Linked DNA regions of Homo sapiens: region 2 is linked to region 1. Evidence: promoter capture Hi-C in 16 types of primary human blood cells and fetal thymus (Javierre and others, 2016). All regions are on one chromosome and are shown on one strand. Each heading gives the region's core, a stretch centred on a gene start or on the middle of the fragment in contact. The rest is flanking DNA. Distances are from core to core; before and after follow the strand shown. Region 1 holds the start of TNFAIP3 (TNF alpha induced protein 3). Region 2 overlaps HECA (hdc homolog, cell cycle regulator).

Evidence for each region. Contacts are between HindIII fragments. The CHiCAGO score rates a contact against its expected background, and 5 or more counts as called.
Region 2: a fragment that was not itself captured here is called in contact with the fragment with the promoter of TNFAIP3 in region 1 in 1 of 17 cell types (activated CD4 T cells); the score reaches 5.6 in activated CD4 T cells.

The regions. Positions count from the first base shown.
Region 1 is chr6:137,865,677-137,869,350 of GRCh38, forward strand. It overlaps TNFAIP3 (TNF alpha induced protein 3), which reads left to right and starts at 1,583. Exons shown (of 9, transcript NM_001270508.2): 1 at 1,583-1,866. It overlaps WAKMAR2 (wound and keratinocyte migration associated lncRNA 2), which reads right to left and starts at 2,557. Exons shown (of 4, transcript NR_049793.1): 1 at 1,966-2,557; 2 at 907-1,208. RefSeq lists an enhancer at 1,120-1,259 and silencers at 1,340-1,479, 1,720-1,889, 2,030-2,129. The HindIII fragment of the contact is 5,781 bases long and covers 42-3,674 here.
Region 2 is chr6:139,152,016-139,155,689 of GRCh38, forward strand. The region is part of intron 1 of HECA (hdc homolog, cell cycle regulator); the gene reads left to right. Among named protein-coding and RNA genes, the nearest start is that of HECA, 19 kb to the left of the region's middle. The HindIII fragment of the contact is 2,249 bases long and covers 625-2,873 here.

The sequences.
Region 1 (3,674 bases), core at 333-2,832:
ACTCTGCCCCTTTTGGTTGTGGAAACTGGGCAAATGCCTCAAGCTTCTTAACCTTCATATAAAAAGCATATATAAGCATATAGCAAGTACTTGATAAATGTCATTTTAGACCCTGTCATTTCTGCTAGCCCTGGACTCCAGCAAGGTCCATTTACAATGGATAGCTGACTATCCATTGTTTGAATGTTGATAGCACATTTGTGAACAAGAAGAGAGGACAAATAACAAGAGGTTTGGAACTGGAAGAAATTCCAGCCATCGGTTTTAAAAGACGAGGACCAGTCTTCAGAGAGGCCACTAGTGACACTCTGCTCCAAACTTCTTTTTGCCAAAAAAGTGCCACCCTCCATCCAGCCCCCACCCCCATCTCTGCAAGTCCTTACTGGCGAGAGGAGGATACTTTTCTAATTAAAAACCTGTGATATATGGCCTGACAAGTATTCTTAAATGTAATTAAGGGGACCATAGTACAGAATATTTCCATCCGGTTCTAGTTTAGCCAATCTAGTAAATGATCCAAAGGGTCCCGTGCTTAGAGGGCAGTAAGACAGTAAAAACGCCCTAAGACTCCTCCCTGCACAGCACCTGCACCCCCACTGCCCAGGGGGCTGCATCCATCTCCACATGACTCACCCTCCCTGTGCAACGCATGGGGGTAGGGAGGGAAGCGCCAGTATTATCAGCCATCAGCACCCTGGGGTGAACTGATTATCAGGACAACTAAAAACACACCTAATAAAGCCTTGGAGACACATGGCAAGCACCGTGATGGACTAGAAGCGATTTCTAAGCTGAAATGCTGCTTTGAATGCAATGTCAGCTGGATGCTTGGTGAGCAGAAATAGACAAGGGGAAATGGAGCAAGCGCGGCATAGGGGTGAGTGTTGTTCTGATTCCTAAGTTTACCTAAGACTGGGGCCACGGGGTCGGGTGTCCCCTGGGACCTACGTCTCATGCAGCCTGGGGTCCAGAGCTGGCAGGAACAATGGAGATGGGGACCAAAGGCTGTCACCGCTGCTTTTTCTCGAAATGCCCGCCCGGGTCCTGTCTGGGGCTCCCGCCTACGCGCTCATCACGTGCACAGCCCAAACTTTTCAGAGCCGGCCCGAGGCCTGCGGGCCCGGGCGCCAGGGTGGTTTTTAGGGTTTTCTTTCTTTCTTATTTCCCTTCTTCTTCTCCACAGTTGATGATTTTCTGCAGAAAAACAACTGCGAAAAAGAACCTATTTCATTTCCAGTTCCCATCACCGCGATTTCCACATGGATGTGACGTGACCCCAGCTTCCGAAATGCCCAGGTGACTCACGCGGGGACACCCCGGGGCGGGGCGAGGGAGTTTCTCCGGGCGCCTGCAGGGACCGGGCGGGGCGGGGCAGCGGGGCGGGGCAGGGAAAGGGGGCGGGGCGGGGCCCGCAGGCCCGGTCGGGCGGAGGCCGCGCGCGCCCCTCGCCCCCTGCGCCCTCTGGCGGCCGGCTGGACGCACTTCGCAGCCCGACCCAGAGAGTCACGTGACTTTGGAAAGTCCCGTGGAAATCCCCGGGCCTACAACCCGCATACAACTGAAACGGGGCAAAGCAGACTGCGCAGTCTGCAGTCTTCGTGGCGGGCCAAGCGAGCTTGGAGCCCGCGGGGGCGGAGCGGTGAGAGCGGCCGCCAAGAGAGATCACACCCCCAGCCGACCCTGCCAGCGAGCGAGCCCGACCCCAGGCGTCCATGGAGCGTCGCCTCCGCCCGGTCCCTGCCCCGACCCCCGCCTGCGGCGCGCTCCTGCCTTGACCAGGACTTGGGACTTTGCGAAAGGATCGCGGGGCCCGGAGAGGTAACCGCCGCGCCTCCCGGAGAGGTAACCGCCGCGCCTCCCGGAGAGGTAACCGCCGCGCCTCCCCGTGCCGTCTGCCTCGGGCTCACCGCAGTCAAGGGCTGCGGGTGCATGTTGGGCAGCGACCCCCGGGCTGGCACCGTCTACCTGGCGTTGGTTTTGCAGCGCTCCTGGACTGGGAGTTTGTTGGACGTTTCTGTCTGGGTTTTGAAGTGCTGGGAGTTGAGGTCACTGCTGCAGAGGTTGGAGTGACAGCCCTGGATACCTCCAGCCAGCTGTTCCTTTCAGATAATGCACGGAACTTAAGCTGCAGCTGACTGGTGAAGAGGCGCCCCTCGGGCCCTCCGATCGGGTGGTCGTTGGCGCTTTGCTCCTTTCGTGTCTTTTTTGGAGCCAAGCGTTGCATGCTCATGGCCACGTAGACCTTGCAGAAGCGCTGCGGCTTTTTCCCAAATTGTGCAGGACCAGCCCGACGGGGCGTAGGGTACCGCAGTGGCCGCCAGCCCGGCGGAGGTGGGGGGCTTCAGTCCCAGAGACAGCTTCCCAGACGCTCACGGGTCCTTGCAGGGGGCTGGGGTCCTGGCGCGGGGTTCAGCTTTTCCAGTAGCAGCAGTGTAAGAGAAGTATGCATGTAGACGTGGGTCGCTGGCCCCTGCTCCAGCCCCTACCCCACGGTTAGACTGTCTTTGTCAGCTGGAGTCGTCCCACATCCTGCCACCTGGCCTCTCAGAAAAGCAGTGGCATTAAGTAAGGAAGGAGCTTAACTCTTTTTGAGCCCGCTTTGTTTTCGGTTCTCCTCGCCTCAGATCTTCTTGCCTTGGAAAGCCAGTCTGGTCAAGTGTCTCAGGGTAGCATTTTGGCAGAACCATTGTTAATTAAAGGGACTTCTGGACCGCAACCTTAATGTACCAGATTATTGAGCAGCCAATGAATGCTTCATTCTCATTGTTTAAGGTGCTGCTTTGATTTTTTTTTCAATTCTTTGTACTATTTTTGATTTTTTGGAGAGGCACATCCCCAAATTTGGATGAGGTATTTGTTGATAAATAATTCATCAATTTCCACAATGCAGACAAAAATGTCTGCCCAGAGTGGAAAAATAAAACAAGGGGGAGAAGAGTTTGAGTAACGGAGAAGTTCTGTGGAATCCTAGTGACAAAAGTTGAGAAACTACCTTTAAATAAGACAGTGAGGTAACAAATGTTAAAAAAAAAAAAGTTAAGGGTAATATTGCATTGTTTGCCACTTATAACGTATCTGAAACATTTGTTCTTTAATCTTAAGCGTAGAGTGGTCCAAGACCTGGAAATCTGGGCAGTGGGTTTTGATTTCTAAGGAGGCAGTTTTACAGGCTGTGCAAGGCTAACCCTACCAATGAGATCACACTGGCGTATCCGATATTGACATTTGCATGTCTTGCCTATGGTTTACAGCTCTCACTATTTTAGATCTTTGGTGAAAAATCTTTAGATTCAGAAGAGAAAAATAAAAGAGTCAGGCAAGCAAAAAGAGATAACACCTCATTTGTTTAAAATCTTCCTACTGCCCATCTCTTTCCATCTGATTGTGGCAGGCACTGTAGCCACAGGTTTGGTGTTGTGGGATTGCAAGGGGCAGGTATTGAAAGACCTGGCTCCTAGGCAAAACTTTGCCCCTGAATGGCTGTGGGATCTGAGCAGTACCTGTAACTCCATTGCCTTAGCTGCAGACTAAGGTGGTAGTGTAATTTCAGGGAAGGGAATAAGGTCATCTTTGACTTTTAGTCCCATCATCAAGCATGGTGATTGGCCTTCAGTAGGTGGTCAGGTAGTGCTTGTTGGGTGGATGGGTGGATGGATGGATAGATGGATGGATGG
Region 2 (3,674 bases), core at 499-2,998, 1.3 Mb after region 1:
GATTGTCCTATTTCTATTCTGTGAAACTTTGATACTTTTAAGAAACATTTAGGATAAACTATGACACTATTATCTTCATCCTGATGTTCAGCCTAAACCAGGCATATTCTGGGTCCGTATTCTTTTGGGTCTTGACGTGTCTTCTATTAGACAAGGAAAATATGAATCTTCTACTTTATAGTCATTATTGATGTGATTTCTTACTGAGATCAGAGCGTCAGAGCCAGAATGGAAATAACAGGTAAAATAGAAACCTAGAGTTTTTTATTTAGTTTGAATTTGAGGCTGGGTAGACTTGTGGGTTTTAATTTCAAAGTAAGAAAAGGGTGGGTCTAGGAGAACAGACTAAATATATTAAGAGAATGTTAAAAACCCAAGTTGTAAACTGTATTGAAGCATTGGATGTGTGTGTGTGTGTGTGTGTGTGTGTAGCTTCCATGTTTATTTTGACAGAGTGGTTTGCCTGAGTAAAAGCTTTTCGTTTAAATCCTACTGTAAGCAAAGAAAAACATGTTTAACTGAATGTAATTGCCTTGTGCTCAATTTGCTACTCACTTTGGAGCAGGTTCACACACTAAAATAACATAAGGGGAGGTTAAATTACATCAAAGGTTAAGACAGATAAGCTTAAGTGATCTCATTGTAGCTCCTATACTAATTAAAACAAGTTGACAAAATATTTTTGTAAGTACTAGCCTTCCTTTATGTGTAGTGCTTAGTGTCTTTATTTTTAGTAGAAAAAAGGTCTTAAAAATATTTGAGGAAATTTATATTAAAACCTTTTGAGTTTTCATTTAAATAATACTTGCCGGTTAATCAGGAAATGATTCTTTAAATTTCTTTTTATTTTTAATTTTTGTGGGTACATAGTAGTATATAGGAAATGATTCCTAAACACCCTGTGAATTTGAGGCACAGTGTGGAGCATCAGTGGGCTGCAGTTAGCTTCTTTGTCCACTCCTGTGTCTTACCTAATTTCCATGTTACAGCCACAGGAATGGGCCAAGGCTGAAGCAGAGACTTTACCCTAGCTGGTGATCAGATGGAAAAGCAAGGCTGGGGCCTAATTACAGGAGCTCCTTGAACATGACCCAAGAACTTGGAGCATTAGTCTGAGTTTCTGAGGTTTCTGAATGTGTGTATGATGTGATCATAGTCAAGTTTTCAGAATGCCGATCTGAAGGTATTAATCAATCAAACTTTTTTTTGCTGTGTATCTCCTAAGAGAATTAGAAAAAAAACAGGGTTCTTGTAAATTTTTAAGTTGTCACACCCAGTTTTCTAAAGACTTAAATAGATGCTGAGGATACAGTTTCCAGTTCATTGTAAACATTGTAATTTATGCAAACAGAATCCTAATTATCGTAGTAACTTGGTAACCATTATCATCCATTTAAAAAATAATGTAATTTTTTTTTTTTTTTGAGAGGGAGTTTTGCTCTCGTCGCCCAGGCTGGAGTGCAGTGGCGCGATCTCGGCTCACTGCGGTCTCCGCCTTCCAGGTTCAAGTGATTTTTCTGCCTCAGCCTCACGAGTAGCTGGGATTACAGGCACGTGCCACCATGCCCATCTAATTTTTGTATTTTTAGTAGAGACGAGGTTTCGCCATGTTGGTCAGGCTGGTCACTCCTGACCTCAGGTGATCCTCCCGCCTCAGCCTCCCAAAGTGCTGGGATTACAGGTGGGAGCCACCGCACCCGGCCTAAAAAAATAATAGAAATTTTACATTCTTTTCTTTATTTCCATTCAGTTTGTACTCAGAATTTGATCCTAAGACAGGGTATTGTCCTGCTTAGAAGTATTTTATTGATCATCCTATCATATTTTCCTATAACAAAATATACATATAAACTTTTAAATTTTTATTAAGATGGACTTCTGAGATGGCAGAGTAAGGGCCTCCAGAAATTTGCTCCTCCATGAAAGCAATAAGAACACTGCCAAGAATTACCAAAATTAACTTTTTCAGAACTCTGGAAATTAACCAAAGGCTTACAGTAATTCTAAGAGTGTTCTTTCAAGAGAAATGACTGAATCATAATAAAAACAGTGAGCTGTGGTGTTTTAACTTGGTTAGTACCTCCCCCTTTCCCTAGCTCTGTGGTATCAGAGCAATGTAATTGCTATGTAAATAGTTGTTATACTGTATTTAGGGAATAATGACAAGAAAAATAAGCCTGTGTATGTTCAATACAGACACAACCATCTGTTTTTTTTCCATGAATATTTTCCATTGACAATTGGTCAAATCCATGGATGTGGAACCCACAGATATAGAGGACAGACTGCATATGAATGGGGTGGAGAGGGAGTCTTAGCTACCTGGAGAATGTGTGCTGCACCAAAACAGCATTCTGATTCACATTCCAAAAAAAAACTCTGGACTGGTTTACTAAGACACAATGCAGGCCAAACTGCCCCATTGGAACTCTGATCTAGGGGATATATAGACATCATATCACCTATTATCAGTTGAGCTTTTAGAATATTTTGAACAGCAGGGAGTTGTGAGTTGTATTTTCTAACCGGTAACTGGTCTACGGATGACCCGTGTTGCCAGTTAATCATGCAGTCTTATGCTTTACCTGTTGGGCAGACAAGGGAAGGGGTAAAGTCATTAGTCTTTTCAGCAGAGGTCATTGGGATTTCAGAGGTAAGGGGAAGGGGCCAAATCGGCCATGGCCTTTGGCCTCCAAATACCATTTTGGGGCTCATCAAGAGAGAAGAAGCAGGTCCAGCATTTACACTGCGTTGTAATTTACATGGTAAATGAAAATCACATAGATAAACTATGAGTAAAGAGGTTTGAGTATTGCCACATTTTGAATATTTGTGCTGACAAAGGAGGACATTAATATGGATAATCAAAATCAAGCTTATTTTCCTAAGCAAGGATAATATTGGAATACAGTACTAAAGACTGACATGAAGTCTTTAAAAATAGGATTGTTTAACAACTGGTTGGACAGTTTCTCCGCAGTTGTATATATACAGTCATGCATTGCTTAATGACAGGGATACATTCTAAGAAGTGTGTCATTTGGCGATTTCATCATCAGGCGTACATCATAGAGTGTACTTATACAAAGTATAGCCTACTACATACGTAGGCCAGATGGTATACCCTGTTGCTTCTGTGCTACAAACCTGTACAGCAGGTTCGTTGAATACTGTAGGCAATTGGAACACAATGGCATTTATGCATCTAAACATACAGAAACATAGAAAAGGCACAGTAAAAATACAGTACAAAAGATAAACAGTGGTACACACATGTAGGCCACTTACACATGAAAGGAGCTTTCAGGACTGGAAGTTACTCTGGGTGAGTCAGTGAGTGAATCTGAAGGCCTAGGACATTACATTACTGTAGACTTTGATAAACACTGTACACTTAGGCTACCCTAAATGTAGGGGAAAAATGAGGTAGGTATACTAGGACGTCACTAGGCAATAGGAATTTGTCAGTTCAGTTATAATCTTATGGGACCACTGTTGTGTACGGAGTTCATTGTTGAATCAAACGTCGTTATATAGCATATGACTGTATATGCACACGTACATATACACACACATACACTTACACATATGCTTAGTCTGGAGTCCTCTTCCCATTTTATGATAGTGTGATTTGGTTCCAAGAGCTCCTGAATCTACATTTCCTTCAGAGCATA